Linked DNA regions of Homo sapiens: region 1 is linked to region 2. The links are contacts of gene promoters, found by promoter capture Hi-C in human tissues and cell types (Jung and others, 2019). All regions are on one chromosome and are shown on one strand. The core of a region is centred on a gene start or on the middle of the fragment in contact, and the rest is flanking DNA. Distances in the headings are between cores, read along the strand shown.

What was found. Contacts are between HindIII fragments. The study calls those that stand out against the background at their distance.
Region 1: a fragment that was not itself captured here is called in contact with the fragment with the promoter of TBCEL in region 2 in 1 of the 25 tissues and cell types used here (hippocampus).

What each region holds. Positions count from the first base shown.
Region 1 is chr11:120,988,119-120,993,440 of GRCh38, forward strand. It overlaps GRIK4 (glutamate ionotropic receptor kainate type subunit 4), which reads left to right. Exons shown (of 21, transcript NM_014619.5): 21 at 1-788. Among named protein-coding and RNA genes, the nearest start is that of TBCEL, 33 kb to the right of the region's middle. The HindIII fragment of the contact is 4,948 bases long and covers 1-4,217 here.
Region 2 is chr11:121,020,724-121,026,128 of GRCh38, forward strand. TBCEL (tubulin folding cofactor E like) reads left to right here and starts at 3,379. Exons shown (of 9, transcript NM_001363644.2): 1 at 3,379-3,568. TBCEL-TECTA (TBCEL-TECTA readthrough) reads left to right here and starts at 3,379. Exons shown (of 30, transcript NM_001378761.1): 1 at 3,379-3,568. RefSeq lists silencers at 3,193-3,342, 3,363-3,632. The HindIII fragment of the contact is 9,289 bases long and covers 1-5,405 here.

The DNA of each region.
Region 1 (5,322 bases), core at 494-2,993, 34 kb before region 2:
CTGATTATTCCTGTGAGGGATACTCGTTTTGTCCTCACCTGACCTCACTCATGAATTTGAATCCTTTATCTTTTTTCTCTTTAACCATCAAATGACAACAAGCTGTGCAAGACACTTGTGTCTTTTTTTAAACCTTGCCTTGATCCTCGTGGAGAAACGTGGATTTGGTGGGAAGGGCACCCGAAGGCCAGCTGACAACAAACCCCAATGGTGCCACTCTGCTCCAACCTGCAGCTCCATCCTATGCTTCTCACAGACAACGTGGTTCCTACTGTCAGATCACATTTGGGGCGGGAAGGGTGGTTTTTTAAAAAAACTCGTTTTTATGAGCAGGCTATCTTGATCAATAGCAAACTTTTTTTAATGGATTAGTGAAATAAATGTCCCCATGCATCATTTATAGTCTGTTTCTTTCTCCGTGTGGAATCAAGATAAGACTGCCAGCACTAGACGGTTTCTGTTAGCTGCTGAGACCAGGGCCTCACCTTGCTCAAGCTAGTGGGTGAATTTGCAACCAGCTAATACTCTTCCTTGGTTTGTTTCCACTTTTTATCTGTTGGTTGTTGGCTTTCTTTTCCATTCTGTATTTTCTATCTGACTCTGTATACTGTATAAAGCAGTTTTTTCTTGTCTGTTTATCTTTCTTCAACTGGAATATTTACAATAAAACAGAAACAAATCCTGAAATGTTAGTGATGGATGACAGCTGTTTGGGTTTAGAAAGTATGGTTCAGTGTGTCTAATATCCAGGTACTAGACTTGAAAAGCAAATAAAATCATAAACCCACTTTTTGTCTTCCCCTCCACCTGCCCTCTCTGTCTCCTTCTCTCCACCTCCCTCTCTACTCCCCCACCCGCTTTGGCTCTTTGTTCAGATCCCAGAAAAGTCTAGGTGGCTTCTTTCAATTTTTAGTCCTAGGAGCCTGAGCCAATCCACCCCCCCATCCCCAAAAGCGGATACATATGTTAATGAAGTTCAGGATTCCTAGGGTTTTGTCTTCCTAAATGCACTTTCACAGAATAGTCATCTATTGATACCTAGGGTAACTCTAGTCAGATATCACCCCAGATTCCACTGGGAGCTTGAAGATTACATCAATTAAAATATAATACTTTGCTTTATTTCTTTTAATTGCTTTGCAGGGCCCCAACCGTCACAAGATCTCACCTCAGAAACCAGGTAGAGTGTAAGTTGAGCACGGAGAGGGCCGAAAATCTTTTGGCTTCCTCTAATCCACTGCTCATATGAGAATATTCTTCCTGGGAACTTGCCAGCCAGCTCTCTTATTGGTTAGGTGAGACTGAAATATCATGATAACCAATCCACCTGGGGCCACTCTGTGAAAGTTTCTTAGTTTTGGATTCCAAGGAGCTTAATTTTCTTTTGGAATCCAAGGGGGAACTTCCCCATGTTGTAGGAGTCAAGTACACAAGGCCAGAAAAGGGCTGGGGCATTTCAGCAACACCAGATTGGTGGTTTGAGAGAAGCTTGAGAGACTCATTTGTGGCCCTCCCACCAATGGGGTGTTCACAGCAAGGTAAAACAGTCTGGAAATGATAAGGGAGATTTGAGTGCCTGACTAGTTGTCAGCTCTCTCGGGGTAATAACGAAGAGGCCTGTTTGGAAAATTCAGAGAAGGAATCCTTTCATAAAGATTTTGCTTATAGCTAGTGCTTCCTATGGGGCCTTCTCAAAGAGAAATTAAAGCACCATGAGTAATTCCTTTGCCTTTCGGTGAATGGTGACTTTCTCCCCACAGGCAGGTCCCCACAGTGGCCAAACAGAGAGTGCCCTCAGGAACTGACAACCTGCCCATCCTAAGGTTTGCCTCAAAGGCTGGGGATAGCATGCTCTCCTAAGACTTTTCCCATAGGGGAAAAAGTTGTTACTGGGTGTGGCTTCCAAAGGAAAAAAAAAAACTCCGAATTTTAGAGCCTACATGGTCAACAAGCTTCTTGTAATTTGAGGGCAATCAAGCAAGAGAAGTTCCGCCACTACCGTAAGAACATTATCATTCAAGTTTTATGAATTTCATACCAATTTCCAAATCTGGAGAATGAATTAAACAAATACGAATGTTACCATTCAACAAACAGCAGAACTAATGCTGAGATCAAGAAAGAAAGAAGTCTATGAAGGCAACGAAGTAAAAAATAAGCTCTCTACCAGAAGTGGCAGAAAATTGAGGCCCCAAGAAGGGTCATAAAAAAATTGAGCATATACTATAGCTGTAGGTTAACTAAGCATATGCATATAAATATTTCACTCACCAGGATTTACCGAAGCATGTCAGTGCATTGTGACTGATGGTGTACCTACTGGGGACTTGATCCTATTTACAAGTTAGACTAGATACAGATGATGGATGACAAATCCCTCCATCATCTGTATCTAGGGCAAAAGATCCTCCTGTAGAAAATTAGCTGAAGATCCTGCCCATTCTTCAGTATGCCTTGTGACCAATCAAGTGTTGTCTCTTGGTTGTCAGGGAACACTGGCACTTTTCCATAGATTGGTGAGTGACCTGGAGAGGGTATTTACCTAGCACCCAGCACCACATTAGATCTTGCCAGAAATGAGACATAGAAGCAGTGATCTATACTCTGCTTGAAGGAAAAAACTAACTTTACCTGTAAGAAACTGAAAAAAAAAATCACACAAAATATAACAATAAAAGTGCTACAGTGTGTGGTTTGGAATATTAACCATGTAGAAATTCAGAGGAGCTCAAGATTCTAAGTAGTTAAAAGAGCAAAGGAAGGCTGGGTGGAGGAAGCAGGACTGTTTGTGTGTTTGGGTTGTTAATTAATTAATTTATTTTTTTGATGTCTGGGAAATAAGATCTTGCTCATTGCCCTTGGAGTGAAATATGGTTAATTCATGTTGATGAATTCAGCACCCCTCTGATGAAAGATAGTTTGTTGTAGCTGTTGTTTTGTTTTCACCCAGTTCGTCCCTTTTTGAGGAATTCTGGCTCTCAAACGATGCTTCTTCCTGTTTGCTGCCAACACTAGAGATTCTCACCAATGTCTCATCCCTTGGCTTCTTTAAGTTGTATTAGTGGAATCAGCTGCAGATACAAACAGCCTAGCCCTACAGAATACAGAAAGGCTAACTGAAACAAGCAATGAAACTGTCTGAAGTGGATTGGGAGCTCTTTTCAGAAAAAAAAAAGATCAAAGAGTTTTAAAATTGGGGGAAGGAGTAAGAACACAGTACTGAAGGTCTGGAGCCAGTGTATAAATTAATACAGAACCAAACGTCCAAATTTCTGATGTACGGGAACATTTAGAACTGTCTTCCTTTTCAGTCCATTTAACCATCCTGTTACTCATAGCACAAGAAGTCTACCTGGAAAGGTATTCTACTTGGATTGTTCTGATTCGCTTCTTAGTAGCTTTTGCATTAAAAATAATAAAATGTAACTTCCATTTCCATCATCTGTAATCCTACAGCACCGAGTGGGCTACAAAAGCATTTTAAATCACTAAGATTGGTCAAATGTGAAGGTCAACGGAGAGAAGTCACAAACAGGTGGACAGCACAGGCTGTCATTACCAGGAGACTGTGCCCTCAAGCTCAAGTGCTGACAGAACTTTAAAACCCGCTTACGGAGGATCAGATGAGAAACAGTTCAGTATAGAGAGACTTGAAGTCATTTTTCTTTGCTGATTTTTCCCTTCTTATATAAACTAAACTGGTGTGTATGTGTAGGAGTTTAGCACAGACATACAGGTTCCTGCCAGTGTGTGTGTGTGCGTGCACGGTGTATGGGTGTGTATATGGTATGTGAGTGTGATGTGTGTGCATGAGAGTACGTAGCAGTTTAGCGTAGACCTACAGGTTCCTGCCACTGTGTGTGTGTGACATGTATGTGAGTGTGGGGTGGCATATGTGTGTGTGTGGTGTGTGGGTGTGTATATGTGTGTGGTGTGTGTGTGGTGTGTGAGTGTATGAGTGTCAGGGTGTGTGTGGTGTGTGTATGAGTGTGGTGTAGGGTGTGGGGGGGTATGTGGGTGTATATATGTGTGTGTGTCATGTCTGAGAGCATGGGATGTGTATTTGTGTAGCAGTTTAGAGTAGACCTACAGGTTCCTGTCATTCTATGTGTGCCTGTGGGGTCGGAGGTGTGGGGTGTGTGTGGGTGTATTTGTGTGGTGTGTGGGTATGTATATGTGTGTGTGTGGTGTGGTGTGGTGTGTGTGTGTGTAGCAGTTTAACACAGACCTACAGCTTCCTCTCAGTGTGTGTGTGGGGTGTGTGTGTGGTGTGTGGGTATGTACATGTGTGTGTGATGTATGTGTGTAGCAGCTTAGCAGAGACCTATAGGTTCCTGTCAGTGTGGGTCTAGTGTGTGTGCACCAAGTGGGTGTGTATATGTAAGTGTGTAGTGTGTGTGTGTAAGAGTGTGTGGTGTGTGTGTAGCAGTTTAGCACAGACTTTCCGGCTCCTGTCAGCGTGTGTGTGTAGCGTGTGTGTTGTATGATGTGTGTGCGTGTGTATAGCAGGTTCCTGTCCATCCTCCTAATGTCCCTTTCAAAAGACAGAAGACTCTTCCCATTATCGCTTCAGCCTTTTCTCTGTGCTTCTAGGTAACACTGCTGGCTTTAGTCTTCTGGCTTTTGGAGGCTTAGTTCTCACTGAATGGTCTTTGATGTAATTTATTTCTAAGGTGAATGTATATGTAGATGCATGAGGTAAAAGGTGTTTTTCCCCATTCCCAGATGAGTGATAAGATGTCTGAGCTGACTTCTTAAAACCTATTGCCACTCTACCTCCATCAGCTGCAAAAGAAAGTTCCTCTAGCATTAGTAAGTGACTAGAAAAAATGTCGTGCCGATAGTGTGATAGAACACAGCCAGAAAGAACAAGAGCGGTGCAGGCCGGCTTTCACTTACACTCCATTCTTATCATCAATAGCCTCATCATTTTAAGCAGAAAATCATTTTCAAAAAGCTCAGACAACGAAATTGTTAAAATTTGAGTGGTTGGATTGACCAATAAAGTACAGAATTCAGAAACAGTCTTACTCAGGTAGCCTATCTCTTGTTTTGAATAAAACAGCAAATTTGCTAAGGCTGTCATTATTTTCAGAGGATTCAAAGGTCTCCCCGATTGGGCCCCTGCTGATCTTTCAACCTTCTCCTGACACTTCTTACCTCCCTTCCAACCCACACAGCAGTCAAACCATATCCCCCACTCCCCCATACTGACCCTCCACATCCCATGTTCTGGGCCTTTGCTCTGGAAGTTCCTAGCTCCTGGGATGCCCTTCCCATTCATCTCTACACTGCCAAAGCCTACCCATAGTTCAGATCTAG
Region 2 (5,405 bases), core at 2,129-4,628:
AATCACATATGTGTTTTTGTTTGTTTGTTTGTTTGTTTTTTTGATACAGAGTCTCGCTCTGTCACCCAGGCTGGAGTGCAGTGGCACAACCTCGGCTCACTGCAACCTCCGCCTCCTGGGTTCAAGCGATTCTCCTGCCTCAGCCTCCCGAGTAGCTGGGATTACAGGCTTGCACCACCACACCCAGCTAATTTTTGCATTTTTAGTAGAGACGGGCTTTCACCATATTGTCCAGGCTGGTCTCAAACTCCTGACCTCTTGATCCATCTGCCTTAGCCTCCCAAAGTGCTGAGATTACAGATGTAAGTTTTAGAAAGATAATTCTGGCTGTCTTGGGGAGAAAGATGGGAGGTGGGTAGAGACATTGATCTTGTCTTTAGAAGTTTCATCTATAAGGGGAAAGATGGGAAAAGAAGCAGAAAAATGACTGGAGGATATCTCAGAGATACAAAGAAGTGTATAATCGACCACACCCAGCCACATACAATACTCATATATGTATTTATATACGTTGCACATAGTATTTGTTAACAGTAATGACCCATATTTCTTGCTTTTTTCCTAGTTGCTCACAGGGCAACTAGCCTCTTAAGCGTTTCTGGGTGTCCCCAAAGGTACCTGAGCTCAGAAGTAAGTCTGTCAACAGAGTATCCATGCAGCATCCACCTTGTACATTTTACTCCGCTCTTCTCATGGTCCTCACCACTGAGGCTACTTTTGACTGTGGCCATGCTGAGAGGTGACAGCGTGCTGGCAGTGGTGACAGCGTGCTGGCAGTCCTCACAGCCCTCGCTCGCTCTTGGCGCCTCCTCTGCCTGGGCTCCCACTTTGGCGGCACTTGAGGAGCCCTTCAGCCCACCGCTGCACTGTGGGAGCCCCTTTCTGGGCTGGCCAAGGCCGGAGCCGGCTCCCTCAGCTTGCAGGGAGGTGTGGAGGGAGAGGCGCGAGCTGGAACTGGGGCTGCACGCGGCGCTTGCGGGCCAGCTGGAGTTCCGGGTGGGCGTGGGCTTGGCGGGCCGCGCACTCGGAGCAGCCGGCCGACCCTGCCGGCCCCTGGCAATGAGGGGCTTAGCACCCGGGCCAGCGGCTGCAGAGGGTGTACTGGGTCCCCCGGCAGTGCCAGCCCACCGGCGCTGCGCTCGAGTTCTCACCGGGCCTTAGCTGCCTTCCCGCGGGGCAGGGCTCGGGACCTGCAGCCCGCCGTGCCTGAGCCTCCCACCCCCTCCATGGGCTCCCGTGCGACCCGAGCCTCCCCGATGAGCGCCGCCCCCTGCTCCACGGCGCCCAGTCACTTCCACCACCCAAGGGCTGAGGAGTGCGGGCGCACGGCGCGGGACTGGCAGGCAGCTCCACCTGCAGCCCCGGTGCGGGATCCACTGGGTGAAGCCAGTTGGGCTCTTGAGTCTGGTAGGGACGTGTACAACTTTTATGTCTAGCTCAGGGATTGTAAATACACCAATCGGCACTCTGTATCTAGCTCAAGGTTTGCAAACACACCAATCAGCACCCTGTGTCTAGCTCAGGATTTGTGAATGCACCAATGGACACTCTGTATCTAGCTACTCTGGTGGGGACTTGGAGAACCTTTGTGTGGACACTCTGTATCTAGCTAATCTGGTGGGGAGGTGGAGAACCTTTTGTCTAGCTCAGGGATTGTAAATGCACCAATCAGCGCCCTGTCAAAACAGACCACTCGGCTCTACCAATCAGCAGGATGCGGGTGGGGCCAGATAAGAGAATAAAAGCAGGCTGCCCGAGCCAGCAGTGGCAACCCGCTCGGGTCCCTTTCCACACTGTGGAAGCTTTGTTCTTTTGCTCTTTTCAATAAATCTTAGTACTGCTCACTCTTTGGGTCCACACTGCTTTTATGAGCTGTAACACTCACCGCGAAGGTCTGCAGCTTCACTCCGGAGCCAGCGAGACCACTAACCCACCAGAAGGAAGAAACTCCGGACGCATCCGAACATCAGAAGGAAGAAACTCCAGACGCGCCACCTTAAGAGCTGTAGCATTCACCGCGAGGGTCCGCGGCTTCATTCTTGAAGTCAGTGAGACCAAGAACCCACCAATTCCGGACACAATGCTAATGATCTCAGTGCTCTGAAAGCCAGTAATTCTTAAATTGCCAAGAAAGGCACTCTGTTCTCTGTGGAAGGGGGAGTAAAGCCCCTTCCTGAGCAACCTAAGATACAATTCTTGGCTAATCATCCCCTTTATACTCAGAGCAGTTTCTTTACCCATGACCTTCTGGCTTTTTTTTTTCCTCTCTACCCTGTCTAACCCTACCTATGGGATATGAGAAAACAAAACAGAATGACAAAAATAAGTCTCCAGGAACTGATGATGGTAAGGTGCTATTGGGTCTGTCCTAAATAATTTTGTTTCCCCCTTCTAGAAACCAATGCAGACATGCACATGCACATTACATCCCCCACGTCTTTTCTGGCACACACCACACAGAAGCACATACACTTTATGCACAAAGACATCTTCATCTCCTAGCACTTCAGGGGACATTCCCATACAAGGCTGAATTCACTTGGGGTTGAGCCAGCACCACGCCTATTCCATGTATGTTTCTGCAAAAGAAATGGACGAAGGAGTACATAAGCAATCACAGCTCAACAGTCAGATATAGTAATACTATGCATGGAGTTGGAGCAATAGCGTGGCATAAAGTGAAGTGCATGGACCCTGGTGCCAGCCTGACCTGGATTCAAATCTCACCCTGGTCACATTTACTAACTGGGTGGTCTTGGGCAGATCACTTAAGCACTCTGAACTTGTTTTCAATTCTATAAATACCATCTCTTTGGAGGGCTGTAAAAATTAAAAATAGCACATGCGCAGTGCCTGTACCTAGAAAGTGCTCAATAAATGAAAGCTGCTGTTACTACATTGGTGTTGGAAGCTCGGGATGCCACTTGTGAAGGGGGCACAGAAGAAAGGTCAGACTGCCACCATACCCTGAGGGCTCATCTAGTATAGTTCCCTCATTTTATGGTTGAGGACACTGAAGCCAGAGATAGGAAGAGACTTGGTCAAGGTCACACAGCAAATCAGTAACAGAGCCAGGCCAAGATTCCAAGTGTTTCTGGAAAGGTTCAGCCCAATGCTCTTTTCTGCAGCCCCTATTGTCCTCTGATATGACAATGTGTACTCCTGTTCTGCCCCTGGGGATTGTCCACTCAATGGGTGGGCACGAGAAAGAGCAGATGAGGTGTTTGTGGTAAAGCCTAAGCCAGTGCAGCCATCCCCGTCGCCATGGCAACCCCAGCGCGGTTGGGGAGGACCCGCTCCTCCGGCGCCCCCTCCCATTCACGCAGCGGACGTGACACGTGCGGCGGGGTCACGTGTTGTTGTTGGGCCGGGAAAGCTGCTTCCGGGTCAATGCAGGACACTGGGCTCCGGCGGCCAGAGTGGGGGACTAGGTGAAGCGGCGCCGGGCCGGGGCTGGCCGGGACCAGGCCCGAGGCTGAGCGGCGGCGACAGCGGTGGCCGGGAGGGGGGAGGAGAGGCGCAGCCAGAGGAGCCGCCGCAGTAGCTCCCCCGCCTCCCGGGCTGAGGGGTGAGTGGAGCCGGGCCCGCTGGCTCTGCCGGGCTCTCGAGGCCCGAGGCGTTCCCCTCTGGAGCCGAGGCGCGGAGGGTCGCTCCTGCAGGGTGCTGGGATAGGACACTCGGGGAAGGGTGAAAGCCACATGGGGCCTGTCTCGAGCAGCTGTGGGGATGGGAGACCTGCCCTGGGGCTAGAGGGAGGATGGGGCCTGCCTGGCCTGGGCTATGGCGGAGCTGGGAGGGTCTTGGGCTGGGCTGGGCTGGGCTGGGCTGGGGGACTGGTCCCGGGTTGGAGGAGGGCGTGTTGGGGAGCCTGCCCGGGTTCCTGGGAGAATCTAGGCGTCTCACCTTGCCCCAGCGTGGGGGATGGGTAGATGCCTCCCAGCTGTTAGAAGAGGGAGACGTGTCTGGGACTGCTGGGGAAATAGGAAACTTGTCTCTGAACTACTGAATCCCAGAAAAGAGGACATGTCCCCAGGGAGGTTTGCTGGGGGAAGGACGGGCATGTCTAGGCCCTTGGGACATTAGGCCTGCTCTTACCAGGGGCTGATAAAAGGATGTGGATGTGGTAATTGAATAAGGGCTTTTGGGAGAAAAGATTTGCCCCAAGGTTGGGAGACTGAGAACGAGGGTGTTGGACTGACAGGCGGGTGCCTTGTCGTGGGATCTTGGGGGAAGTAAGGATCTGTGTGGAGCTTCTCTGTTGAGTTCTAGGTCCGCTAGTAGGAAGACATTCTGGGAATTGGTGAAGAGAGGAGATTTAATAGTCTTTTCTTGGGACACAGTGATTCCAGAAGTTGTAGTTGAGGAAAGTTGGTTGGAAGTGTTGAACTGTATACAGTCAGTGGAGAAAGGAGGAGCTCTACTGTGAAGGTTGCTAGGCTACAAAGAGCTTGTAGGCAACGCCTAGGGCTGTTGAGAGAAGTTGGTAATGCTTTCAAGTCCAAATACAGGCTGAGCTGGGGCTTGTCCCTTGTTCATGTCATGCTGCTGTGGAGCTCTTACGTTTCCAGTAGTCTATCTTGAGCAAAGAGTATGAATAGGTGCTGAGGACTAAGGAAAACATTCACTCTTTGGGTCCTGAGATGCATTAGACCCAGATCTCTAGGGTGGTAGCTTTCAAACTTAAAAAAAAAAAAATTATGCCCCACAGTAATAAGTATGTCTTACATTCAGATCTAGTACATACGTAGGTATGAAGGGAAACTTTCACAAAGCAGTATTTACCCTTATTATATGTGATATGTTCTGCTAATTTCTATTATATTCCACCCTCTTGCATTAAAAAAAATGCTGGCTGACATTTACTAAATTGATGATTTGTGGGTCACAACTTGCAGTTTGAAAAACACTGTTTCTGAAGCACATTTATTTGGTGTCAATCAGTGTCCTCATTCTGTAAGCTTCTAAAGAGCAGGGATGATTCTAAGGAGATGGATTTTTTTTTTTTTTATTTTATTTTGGCCGGGGGAGAGGGAGGAGGGCAGCTAGGTGCAATTGATTGCTTCGGTTTAGATGTTTATACCACGTAGCATATTTGACCTGTGTTTTCTGAAGGACCATAATCTTGATCTTTAATATCTTGATGTTGCCTGATCATTTGATTGATGAAATTTTTTGTATGCGTGTGTGTTTTAGTTTCCTTTATCCTTTGCTGTGTCTGAGAAATATGAGAGGCCTAGTTCCACTTAGTTGCTTTATCACAACATAGTTAAAGAAATTTTATTTTACTGTTCCAATGTTGTGAAGATACACTGATTTTCTTTTCTGCTATTTAAAAACATCCCAAATTCTTCTTACTGCAGTAATTATTATGATATACTTTTTGCTACATGATGAAAAATATATGA